Linked DNA regions of Homo sapiens: regions 2 and 3 are each linked to region 1. The links are contacts of gene promoters, found by promoter capture Hi-C in human tissues and cell types (Jung and others, 2019). All regions are on one chromosome and are shown on one strand. The core of a region is centred on a gene start or on the middle of the fragment in contact, and the rest is flanking DNA. Distances in the headings are between cores, read along the strand shown. Region 1 holds the start of TMEM203 (transmembrane protein 203). Region 2 holds the start of CARD9 (caspase recruitment domain family member 9). Region 3 holds the start of INPP5E (inositol polyphosphate-5-phosphatase E).

Evidence for each region. Contacts are between HindIII fragments. The study calls those that stand out against the background at their distance.
Region 2: a contact is called between the fragment with the promoter of CARD9 here and the fragment with the promoter of TMEM203 in region 1, in 2 of the 25 tissues and cell types used here (dorsolateral prefrontal cortex and spleen).
Region 3: a contact is called between the fragment with the promoter of INPP5E here and the fragment with the promoter of TMEM203 in region 1, in 2 of the 25 tissues and cell types used here (dorsolateral prefrontal cortex and spleen).

The regions. Positions count from the first base shown.
Region 1 is chr9:137,204,033-137,207,392 of GRCh38, reverse strand. TMEM203 (transmembrane protein 203) reads left to right here and starts at 1,745. Exons shown (of 1, transcript NM_053045.2): 1 at 1,745-3,311. The coding sequence starts at 1,979. The coding sequence ends at 2,389. It overlaps NDOR1 (NADPH dependent diflavin oxidoreductase 1), which reads right to left and starts at 1,693. Exons shown (of 14, transcript NM_014434.4): 1 at 1,481-1,693; 2 at 1,084-1,161. The coding sequence starts at 1,615. RefSeq lists a silencer at 1,730-1,989. The HindIII fragment of the contact is 14,043 bases long and covers 1-3,360 here.
Region 2 is chr9:136,372,283-136,375,642 of GRCh38, reverse strand. It overlaps CARD9 (caspase recruitment domain family member 9), which reads left to right and starts at 1,974. Exons shown (of 13, transcript NM_052813.5): 1 at 1,974-2,111. It overlaps SNAPC4 (small nuclear RNA activating complex polypeptide 4), which reads left to right. Exons shown (of 24, transcript NM_003086.4): 24 at 1-72. RefSeq lists enhancers at 1,079-1,792, 1,812-2,106. The HindIII fragment of the contact is 15,539 bases long and covers 1-3,360 here.
Region 3 is chr9:136,437,961-136,441,320 of GRCh38, reverse strand. INPP5E (inositol polyphosphate-5-phosphatase E) reads left to right here and starts at 1,476. Exons shown (of 10, transcript NM_019892.6): 1 at 1,476-2,713. The coding sequence starts at 1,902. SEC16A (SEC16 homolog A, endoplasmic reticulum export factor) reads left to right here. Exons shown (of 32, transcript NM_014866.2): 32 at 1-1,216. RefSeq lists silencers at 1,318-1,517, 1,568-1,747, 1,808-2,297 and enhancers at 1,370-2,003, 2,004-2,638, 2,588-2,697, 2,639-3,272. The HindIII fragment of the contact is 9,976 bases long and covers 919-3,360 here.

The DNA.
Region 1 (3,360 bases), core at 496-2,995:
TTCTCTGATTTCTGTGGATGGAACCACCATCCATCTTGGTTCCAGAGCCCACATCCCTGTCTCGATTCTGCTTGACCTATTGGGTCCGTTCCATGTCCCGGGGACTCTCTCTTCCTGACACCACTGCAATGTGTCCACTTCTATCTTCTGCCACCACTTCAGCTCAGATCGGTAGCATCTGCTGCCTGTCCTGTGCATCTCATGGCATTATTCCTGCTGTCCTGCAGACCAGTGCGGTTTTGCTAGCTTAGGAACATGACTGTGTCACCCCTACAGTTCCGACAACCCTTCATTTCAAGCCCATCTGCCTTGCTGTGGTTACTCAGGCTCTTTGGACTGGGCCTGGCTTCCTGCCTCTCTTCTCCTCCCCTCTTGCCCCAGTGTACTCCTCAGCTTGGCCACCCTGAGCTGCTTTCCACTTTTCACACAAACCAAATCATCTTTTTCCTCTGCGCTGACTGCTCCTTCTTCCTCGGTGCCTGACTAGCCCTCACGCATCCTTCCGTGACTCAGCTTACACTCTTTTCTTCCAGAAACCTCTGCCTGGGCCCCAAGGTTGGGTGAGATAAGGCTCGATGCCCCTTATCAGTGCTCCTGTGACATATGCTACTTTCCCCAGCAGCAGGTGTTTGCTGGCACTGTCATTGCCCGTTAGCTGCTTCTGCTACAGTGTGAACTCTGCCAGGATGGAAATATGGCTGCTGGGTTCACAGCTGGATCCCCAGCACCAGACTGTGCCAAGAATAGAATATGTGCTTAAAAGATGGTCAGAGAATTCAGCAACGTTCCCTGAGGGTCATACAGTCTAGAAATACACACAAGACCCAGACTAGATGCACATATAGATAGCCCTGGAAAAATAAGAAAGGTTAAAACGGATAATAAGGCTATTTGGTGGCTACGACGAGTTTATTAGAGAGGGCAACCGGAGCCCCCAGCCCCACTCACGGACGTTCTCTCAAATCCACCTCTGAAGGTGCATGAGATAAAGGAGAGCTATTTACTGCACCTAGACGCCAGGCAATGAAAACGGGGTGAGGGTCGAGGGCAGGGATCTGAGGAGCCACATCAGGCCAGCCTTACCTTCATGTTGTCAGGGGGGTCTCCTTGGCCTGTAGTTGCACAAACAAATATCACCAGGGGCTCGTTAATCAGATTCACCTCAACAAAAAGACACACACACGTAAGACCTCCGGCTGTAAGGACCGGGCGTCCTTCCCAAAACTTGACCCCCTTCTCCTTTACTCAGGCTGACAGGGCAGAGGGATTTATGTGAGCAGCCAGACCGTCTTCTCTTTCAGGTTCCAACCTCCTCCAGGTGCTAAACTGAACTCCCCTTCCCAAACCTCCTTCCCTAAATCCGCCATAAGGGAAAGACCCGCTCTCAGAGAAAATGCGACGCCTTTTGGGTCGATGACCCCGCGAGGCGGGCACGCCAGGCCTGCTCGTCCCCCACGCCGAGGCCCTAGCGAGCCCTCACCACCGGGTAGGAGTCCAGGGCCTGCACCCGGCAGCCAAGCCGCCGGCGCCGGGCCTCGCGACCCAGTCTCTCCGACACATCCTGAGCCGTGCCTGTCTGGCTGCCGAAGAGCACCAGAAGCTGCGGGCTCGGCATCGGGGTGCGCCCGGTGGTCTGGTCTGAGACTAAAAACTAGAAGGCAGTTCCCGCCGGCCGGGTTGCAGGGACCGCTCCGCCTTCCGCCTTCCGCCGTCGACCGGAAGTGACGCACTAGGGACGCGCCCTGTGGGGGCATGGCGTCCGATCGAGGCGGGCGTTCACGGGCGGCCAGGGTTGAGTCCCGGGTCGGGGCCGGGGGATTGCCGGCGCATCAGGGCCGAGGGCTGGGGCTGGCGGGGCCGCTCGCTGCCTCTCGCTCGCAGCAGCGGCGGCAGGCGCGGGCGAGGGCCACGGGGAGAGGAGACGCAGCCCCGCGGGTGGCACGCTCGGCCGGGCCCCGGCCCGCGCTCAACGGGCGCGATGCTCTTCTCGCTCCGGGAGCTGGTGCAGTGGCTAGGCTTCGCCACCTTCGAGATCTTCGTGCACCTGCTGGCCCTGTTGGTGTTCTCTGTGCTGCTGGCACTGCGTGTGGATGGCCTGGTCCCGGGCCTCTCCTGGTGGAACGTGTTCGTGCCTTTCTTCGCCGCTGACGGGCTCAGCACCTACTTCACCACCATCGTGTCCGTGCGCCTCTTCCAGGATGGAGAGAAGCGGCTGGCGGTGCTCCGCCTTTTCTGGGTACTTACGGTCCTGAGTCTCAAGTTCGTCTTCGAGATGCTGTTGTGCCAGAAGCTGGCGGAGCAGACTCGGGAGCTCTGGTTCGGCCTCATTACGTCCCCGCTCTTCATTCTCCTGCAGCTGCTCATGATCCGCGCCTGTCGGGTCAACTAGCCTCACCGAGGTGCCGGAGAGGGAGCGCTGGACAACTAGAATGTTGACCTCGAGCCGAGGCCCTACTTGCAGCGCACCGGAGGAGAGGCTCTCTAGTCTGAAGGCACCGCCGGCTTGCGCCGAGCTGAGTGCCGGGTTTCCCTATTCCAATCCTGTTTGAAATGGTTTCTTCAGCAGGGCTTAAAAGAGCAGCCTTCATCCTGAAAATGTATTTCCTTTTGTTTAATGCTTTGAGTAGATAATCCTGAATTGAGGTCATGAGGAGGCCCCCCAGGCCAGACAGTCCTGAACCCCTCTGACACTTGGAAACTGAATATAAGTAAAATGTCCAGGTGGACTCTGAGTATTTCCTGTGGATCCTGGGAAAGTACTGTTGCACAAAGGCTGCAAAGCTGGACTCAGGAATGTCCTCCAACCAGCAGCGCTGACCTAAGAGCTCCCTGTGCCGTCTATCCAGACCAGACTTCGGTAGATGCCTTTGTTAGATCTATCACATGTAAACGAGCTTGTATCTCCTTCCCTGTGCCACGAGAGAGATTGGCTTTTTATTCCAGTCTAGGCAGAGACAGAAGAATGTTGAATAAGAGCACGATTAGAGTCCTGTCTGGTTATCTGTTGCCCAAGAAAAGAACTCTGCTGTCCAGGCACTGCTTGGCTTACTATCCCAGCAAAGACTGCAGTTTTGTGGACTTTTGACCACCTTGGGCTGGCACTCTTAGCACACCTGAGACAGATTTAAGCCTCCCTAAGAGACTGAAGAGAGGAACAGGTGTCAGATACTCATAGGCACTGAGATCTACAAATGGGAAGCTTGTGAGTGGCCCATCTTTGTTGGCCTACGAACTTTGGTTTGATGCCAGTCAGGTGCCACATGAGAACCTTTGCTGAGATGCAAATAAAGTAAGAGAATGTTTTCCTGAAATGAATAGTGGTTGCCTGTAACCCTCAAGGGTTAAATAGGATGAATATTG
Region 2 (3,360 bases), core at 725-3,224, 830 kb after region 1:
GCATGGCTGTTCCCCAAGTGCACACCTGAACACTTGGAGGAATAAAGTTCTGTTTTTAATTGTGGAGCTGGACACAGGCTGTTGTGGTTTTGTTGTCCTGAGGTACCGGGCAGTGTACAGGGACCCCCCACCTGGCTGGGGTCAGGCTGCTGCCTAGTGGCTGAGCCACCCTAGTGCAGGCAGTTCGGGAACAAGCAGGGTGCTGGGGGCCCAGAGCTGGGGTCCTGGAAGGCCTCCCGTACCCCGGCTGCCCTCCTGTCAGAGAAGCAGGCTTTCTTTCGCCCATTTCCTGGAAAGCATCTGTGGCTTTGTCCTTCAGGCTAGCCGGCACCCTCCCCAGATGGCTGCCAGCCCTCGCGCTGCCCTGGCTGACCCAGGGGGTTCCCTGGAACAGATGACCTGGCTACCCCGACACGGCGGCAGCCCCCACCCTCCACTGTTCCTTTTGCATGGGCCTTTATTGGCATAAGACTAGCCCCCATCTTCTCCGTCTGTCCCCTAGCTCCCTTTCCTTTGTCTCTGTGGCAGCAGCGCCCCCAGGCCCTTGGCTATCTGGGCTTCGATCCTTCACTGGAGCCACTGTGGGGCCTCAGCCCTGGGCACCTGGCAGACGGGACGGTCCCATGGCCGACCTCACTCCTGAGTATGTGTTGCTGTGCCTGGTTCTCTAGTCTGGTGCCTAGTCTGGGGGCCACTCTGATCTGTGGGTTATTTAGCGGTATATTATTTAATTTCCAAATATTTAGAGATTTTGCCGATATCTGTTACCGATTTTTAGCTTCCGATATGGTTAGAGAACATGGTATGTGTGTTCACTCCTAAGGACACACACCACAGGGAAGTCACTAAGGTCCGCGTTTTAAACGCTGGGGAAACACTGGGTCATGAGGGCCTGGTGCCAGCTCCGGTTCGCTCCCTGGCAGGGCCCAGGATGGCCCCGGCCTGCACACTCGCTCATGTTGATGGTGAGGGGTCCAGCAGGGGCACGGCCCCCTGGAATGTGGCATTCCCGAGAGCCCAGGAGGACCCCTAACTGTCCGCTCCTTAATGTGTGATGTCAGACGTTGTCCGCACAGAGGCCTGAGGGCTGGAGGCTGAGAACGGTTAGGCAAGCTCCACACCAGCTTCCTTGCCTTCCAGCCTGGCGGCCCCTTCTCGAACCTGTTGGGTGGCAACTCAGTTCAACCAGCTTTACCGGGTGAGGCGGGGCCTGGGGGTTCCCAAGCCTGCAGGGATGAGGCTCTGGCAGCCCACACGCTGAAGTGCACAGTTCAGGGCAGACTCTGCTGTCCGTTGTCCCTGGATGGGGGCCGAGCTGTGCCCTGCTGTCACCGGCTCTTCTGAAGCTGGTTTGGGGGACCCCGAGAGTGGCCTCAGTCCTCACATGCATCCTGGTGGAGAGCAGGGATGCCTCATGATGGGGATAACGAGGATAACGACACTTCTGGAAGGGACGTTTCTCCCCCGTGTGCAGCTGGGTGGTGGCCGATGCCATGGCCCCTGGCAGGCTGCTGTGGCCTCCTGGGCTCCATAAGGTGGGCTGCAGCCCTTCTGTGACCAAGGCGTGTGCTGGCCATGCCGTGTGGCTGTGTGCCCCCCTGCACATGCCCTGCCCCGCTGTCCTGAGATGCTGGCGAGGGCGAGGGTGTTCGCACAGAGCAAAGCATGCCTTACTGAAGAAGTCTCCAGAAGCCTGTGACCAGGTCAAAGTGGCTGGGTGCGGGCTGGCCTTGTCCAGCCCCCTGGGGGTCTCTGCTGTCTCTTCTACTTGCCAGGTGCCAGGGCTGGGCCTCTGGGGCATCCCCAGGACCCCCAGCCCCCGGCCAGGCTGGGAGGGCTGGGAGCAGCTTTCCTCTGGAGGGCAGCGGACTTCCACTTCCGTCTGCCTCTTGGGGCCTCCTGGGCTGGGCGAATCAGAAAGCAGGTCACCAGGGACTGTCCCCCTGTGGGAGGACTGGCGGGACTGTGGAGTTAAGCAGAACCCATCAGGAAGTGCACAGGCGTCCGGCGTGCTCCTCCCTCCCTGCAGCCCCGGGCAGCATCTCCCAGAGGCTCCGCGGCCCAGGCTCCTGGTGTGTCTGCAGTGCAGGTGGCTCCTGGAAGACCCTCAGGTGGGTGGGTCTGGTGCTTTCTGAAAGGTGGCCAGGAAGGTTGGCGTTGGCCTAGTTCAGGATCCTGGCACTGATCCCCCAGAGCAGCCTGAGGCTTCCCACAGGCAGCCAGGCAGCCTCCGCCATGCGGCCCCGTCCCTTTCACGGCCCCTGGGCGGAGATGTGTTCATTTCAGTGGAATTACGGTGGCAGATGGGACCCTGCATTTCAAGCTGGGGAAGCAGGAAAGGGGCCCAGTGTTCCCAGGACTGTCTACCGTGTGGCCAGTGTTTTTATTCAGTCCCTTGTCTGTCAAAACTGTCCTGAATGGGGTGACAAAGTGCAGCGGGAAGTTGAGAAATGCCTCAAAAGACCAAGCCTGGGGCAACTATGTCTCCAGGAGCAGTGACCCAGCTCCTCTGGGCTGGAAACCAGCGTTTCCCAGCGGGGCTGGAGGCTGTCTGAGGACCACGTGGCTGCTCCCAGCCTTGCCGCAGTCCCAGTCTCAGAGGGAGTGGCTTTCAGCGGCTGAGGCCCCCACCATGCTGGCAGAAAGGGACAGCAGTGGCTGGTCCCAACATGGGTAGTTCTGTTGCAGCCACTGGGATGGGGGCCGGGCCTCATCTGGGGCAGGAGAAGAGTCCAGGGATTCACTGGTGCCCGGCACCTCAACCTGGAGAAAACACCGCAGCAGCACTCCTGGCCAGCCAAGGGCAACACTGACAGCCCCTCCCAGGGTTGCGGGGCCGGCAGGGGGTGACAGAGACACGCTCCTGTGGGCAGCTCTTCCCGGCCAGTGCAGCGACCCCGCAGCTGCAGCAGGGCTGGGTGGCCACTCTTGCATCATCAGCAGCCGGCCGTGGAGGAGGGAGGGCACAGCCAGGGATGTGAGCAGGCGTCGGTCAGGGGAATGAGGAAGTCCCACAAGAACCGGCTCCCCCAGCTGCTGTGCTGGTGGGAGGGCCACTGGCCAACCTGCTCTCACCCAGCTTGGGCTGGCCATAGTGCCAGGCAGTTGCCCTCAGCTCCTCTGCCCATTCCAGCCATGGAGGTGGCTAACCTTGCAGGCTCCAGGGCGTGATGGGAGTGTCCAGGAGGCAGAGGCCAGAGGGGGTCATGCTGTAGGGGGAGTTCCTCTCTCAGACCCCATCTGTGCCTCCCCCGCTGCGTATCTGGGTGACATGGATGCCAACGGGCAGGAGCAAGGGCTGGGAAAGGCTGCGGAGGGGCCCTCGGCTGGTCTGGTGGGGAGCGGGGTCACTGTGTCTCT
Region 3 (3,360 bases), core at 227-2,726, 770 kb after region 1:
CTGGGAGCAAAGAGAGGGTGACTGAGGCAGACCCCAACCCCTGCTCTGCACCATCTGGGCCCTCGCCGTGTTTGAACCTGGCTGAATGAGTGGAGGGCGCTGTGTTCTCAATCAGCGCCTCCGAGGAGCCGTGGGGTTCCTTCGGCATTAGTTCACGGTTTTTGAGAGAGGCCTTAGTTACTGCAGTGAATTTCTTTCCTGTTGCAAAGACGCTTCCAGCCTCACTTTACTTTCTGTGGCCTGATGAGGACCATGGGTGATTTTGTGTACCCAAAGCGCTGGGGACTGCCCACCGTGTGGCCCAGTCACTGGGAAGGAGCCCCAGAGAGCCGGCTGTCTGACATGATGGCTCAGGGTGGTCATCCAGGTTGAAAACTGACCGTGTGATGTTTGATTTGGGCTTCATTTCGTGTGTAGGAGCACGGTTAGACTCACTGTTAAGGAAGCTGGATGCACTTCTCTAAAAGGCTGCACTTTCCGTGAGCACTTTTCGTGGTACAATCCACATGACCCACTTTCTCCCCTGGGGGACGTTGGTTCAGAGGTTGGTAGCACTTGGGGAGAGTATCTTAACACAGTTTCTTGACAGCAGCTCTGGAACTTAGTATTTCTGCCCCGAGTTTTGCCACACTGAGACTTTGAGTAGCTCCTGGTGGACTCAACCCTGTTCAACTCAGAGACGGGCCTCCTCTCACTGATGCAAAGCTTTAAGGCTTCTCTGACTGTTCTGAAACTCTTCGTATTCTTGTCAAGTCTAAAGAGACTGAAGAAAAGATTTAAATACTAATAAAAATCAGTAGATAATTTCTGTAGGTTCTGCTGGAGGAATACAAACTGTTTGGTGTTTTAAATTTAAGTGTAGAAATTGTAGAATGTGGAATTAGCACAGATCCTTCCTGGCTTTCTGTTTCACTTGATCATTTAGCCCAGACCACCCAGGATGTTTTCCAAAATGTTCCACAGGCGTGTCCCGCTGGATCCATTTGTCCTTGTCACTTGGAGAAAGGCCAGTCCCTGTGACGGGGCAGCCCTCTCTGTCCCTCGGTCAGCTCGTGTGAATCCTGGGACCTCTTCCGGTCGGCTCTGCCCGCTGTTCTGGGGTCGACTGCCACGACTTTTGATTCAAGAAGCTTCCTCCAGGCGGGAGCGGCTATTTTTCCTAAATGAGAATTGTTACATTGCAAATTGTTGAATAAAATATTTTGCGCTCCTTCAAGCACCTTCACCTGTGGTTCCCTTTGGTTTGCTGGAAGCGAGTGAGTGCAGGTGTCCGCAGGCCTCGGCGCTGTCCTGGACCGCACCCAGGTCCTCTCCGGGGACCTGCACCTGCCTCGCTGGGACCTGCCGGACTGCGGGGCTGCCGGGTTGGGAGGGGCGTGGGAGACCCGTCCGGGTCCGGTGCGGCGCAGTCCTCCGGCCGCCAGGGGCCGCTGTGGGCGGGGCCGGGGCGCGGGGCGGGGACCGGGCGCGGCCCCGCGGCGGCGGTTGCTGGGTCCCGGCCGGGCTGACTCCGCTTCTGGGCGGCCGGGCCTCCGCGAGTACCGGGTCGACTTCGGAGTCTGCGAGCCCAGCCAGGGGTGCCCGCTTCCCACCCCTCTCCCCGAGCGGCGTCCCCGTCGGGGTCGAACCTCCCCCGCGACAGGCGCCCAGCCGCCTGTTCCCCCAGGCCTTGCCTGCGGACCGCCCTGGGAACGGCGTCTGGGAGCCCCGAGGGGCTGGCGGGACTCGGGGCCCGGGCCATGCGGCAGCCGCCCCCGCCCCTCCGCGACCATCCCCGGCCCAAGCGGGAGCCGCAGCGGCGTTTCTGCTCCTCGCTGCGCCGGCGACCCCGGACCCGGCACCCGTGACCCCTCGCGCTGCCTGCGGCCTCGCGCCGAGGCCTGCCCCGGGAGAGACCGTCCATGCCGTCCAAGGCGGAGAATCTGCGGCCCTCCGAGCCGGCCCCGCAGCCGCCGGAAGGGAGGACGCTCCAAGGACAGCTTCCCGGCGCTCCGCCGGCCCAGCGCGCGGGGTCCCCACCCGATGCTCCGGGCTCCGAGAGCCCCGCGCTTGCCTGCAGCACTCCGGCCACGCCCAGCGGCGAGGACCCGCCAGCCCGAGCAGCACCCATCGCCCCGCGGCCCCCCGCCAGGCCTCGACTGGAGCGAGCCCTGTCCCTGGACGACAAGGGCTGGAGGAGGAGGCGTTTTCGAGGCAGCCAGGAGGACCTGGAAGCCCGGAATGGGACCAGTCCCTCCAGGGGCTCAGTGCAGAGCGAGGGCCCCGGGGCCCCCGCCCACAGCTGCTCCCCGCCCTGCCTGAGCACCTCCTTGCAGGAAATCCCCAAGTCCCGCGGGGTCCTGAGCAGTGAGAGAGGGAGCCCGTCCTCGGGGGGTAACCCTCTCTCTGGGGTGGCCAGCAGCTCCCCGAACCTCCCGCACAGAGACGCCGCCGTGGCGGGGAGCTCGCCCAGGCTGCCCAGCCTGCTGCCCCCGCGCCCACCGCCTGCCCTGAGCCTGGACATCGCCTCCGACTCCCTGAGGACAGCAAACAAGGTCGACTCGGATCTTGCAGACTACAAGCTCCGCGCGCAGCCGCTCCTGGTGCGGGCCCACAGCAGCCTGGGCCCCGGCCGGCCGCGGAGCCCCCTGGCCTGCGACGACTGTTCCCTTCGCTCGGCCAAATCCTCCTTCAGCCTCCTGGCGCCCATCCGCAGCAAGGACGTCCGCAGCAGGTAGGGAGGGCCTGGCGGGTGCAGCGCCCGCGCCGCCTTCGTTGTAGTGTTCAGGCTGCTGGAACCTCGTGAGACCGTTCCCATCAGCAGCGTTTAAGATGCCTAACCGGAAAGAACGAAGCGGGTCTCCCGCAGCCACCCCATCTCCCAGCCCCACCCCACAGCAGCGCCCTTCCCAGAACTTTTCCTGTGCGTTTCAGAACCATTCGTGGGCGTGACGTTGTGTTAAGGTAGACAGGATGGCATCCTGCATACAATTACGTATCTGGCGCTTTTTCTTGTTTAGTCTTGGGAAATGTCGTCAATGTATACGATCCGCCCCTTTGGTTGTTTTTGTTTGTTACTCTCTCTGTCGCCCAGGCTGGAGTGCAGCGGCGCGATCCCGGCTCACTGCAACCTCTGCCTCCTGGGTTCAAGGGATCCTCCTGCCGCAGCCTCCTGAGAATCTGGGATTACAGGCGCCCGCCACCACACCCAGCTAAATTTTGTATTTTTAGTAGGGGCGGGGTTTCGCCGTGTTGGCGAGGCTGGTCTCGAACTCCTGGCCTCGGCCTCCCAAAGTGCTGGGATTCCCGGCGTGGGCCACTGCGCCCGGCCTGCCCCCTTTGTTTTTTTCTGCGGCAAGAGGCCCCAGATGTGTTGAGGCT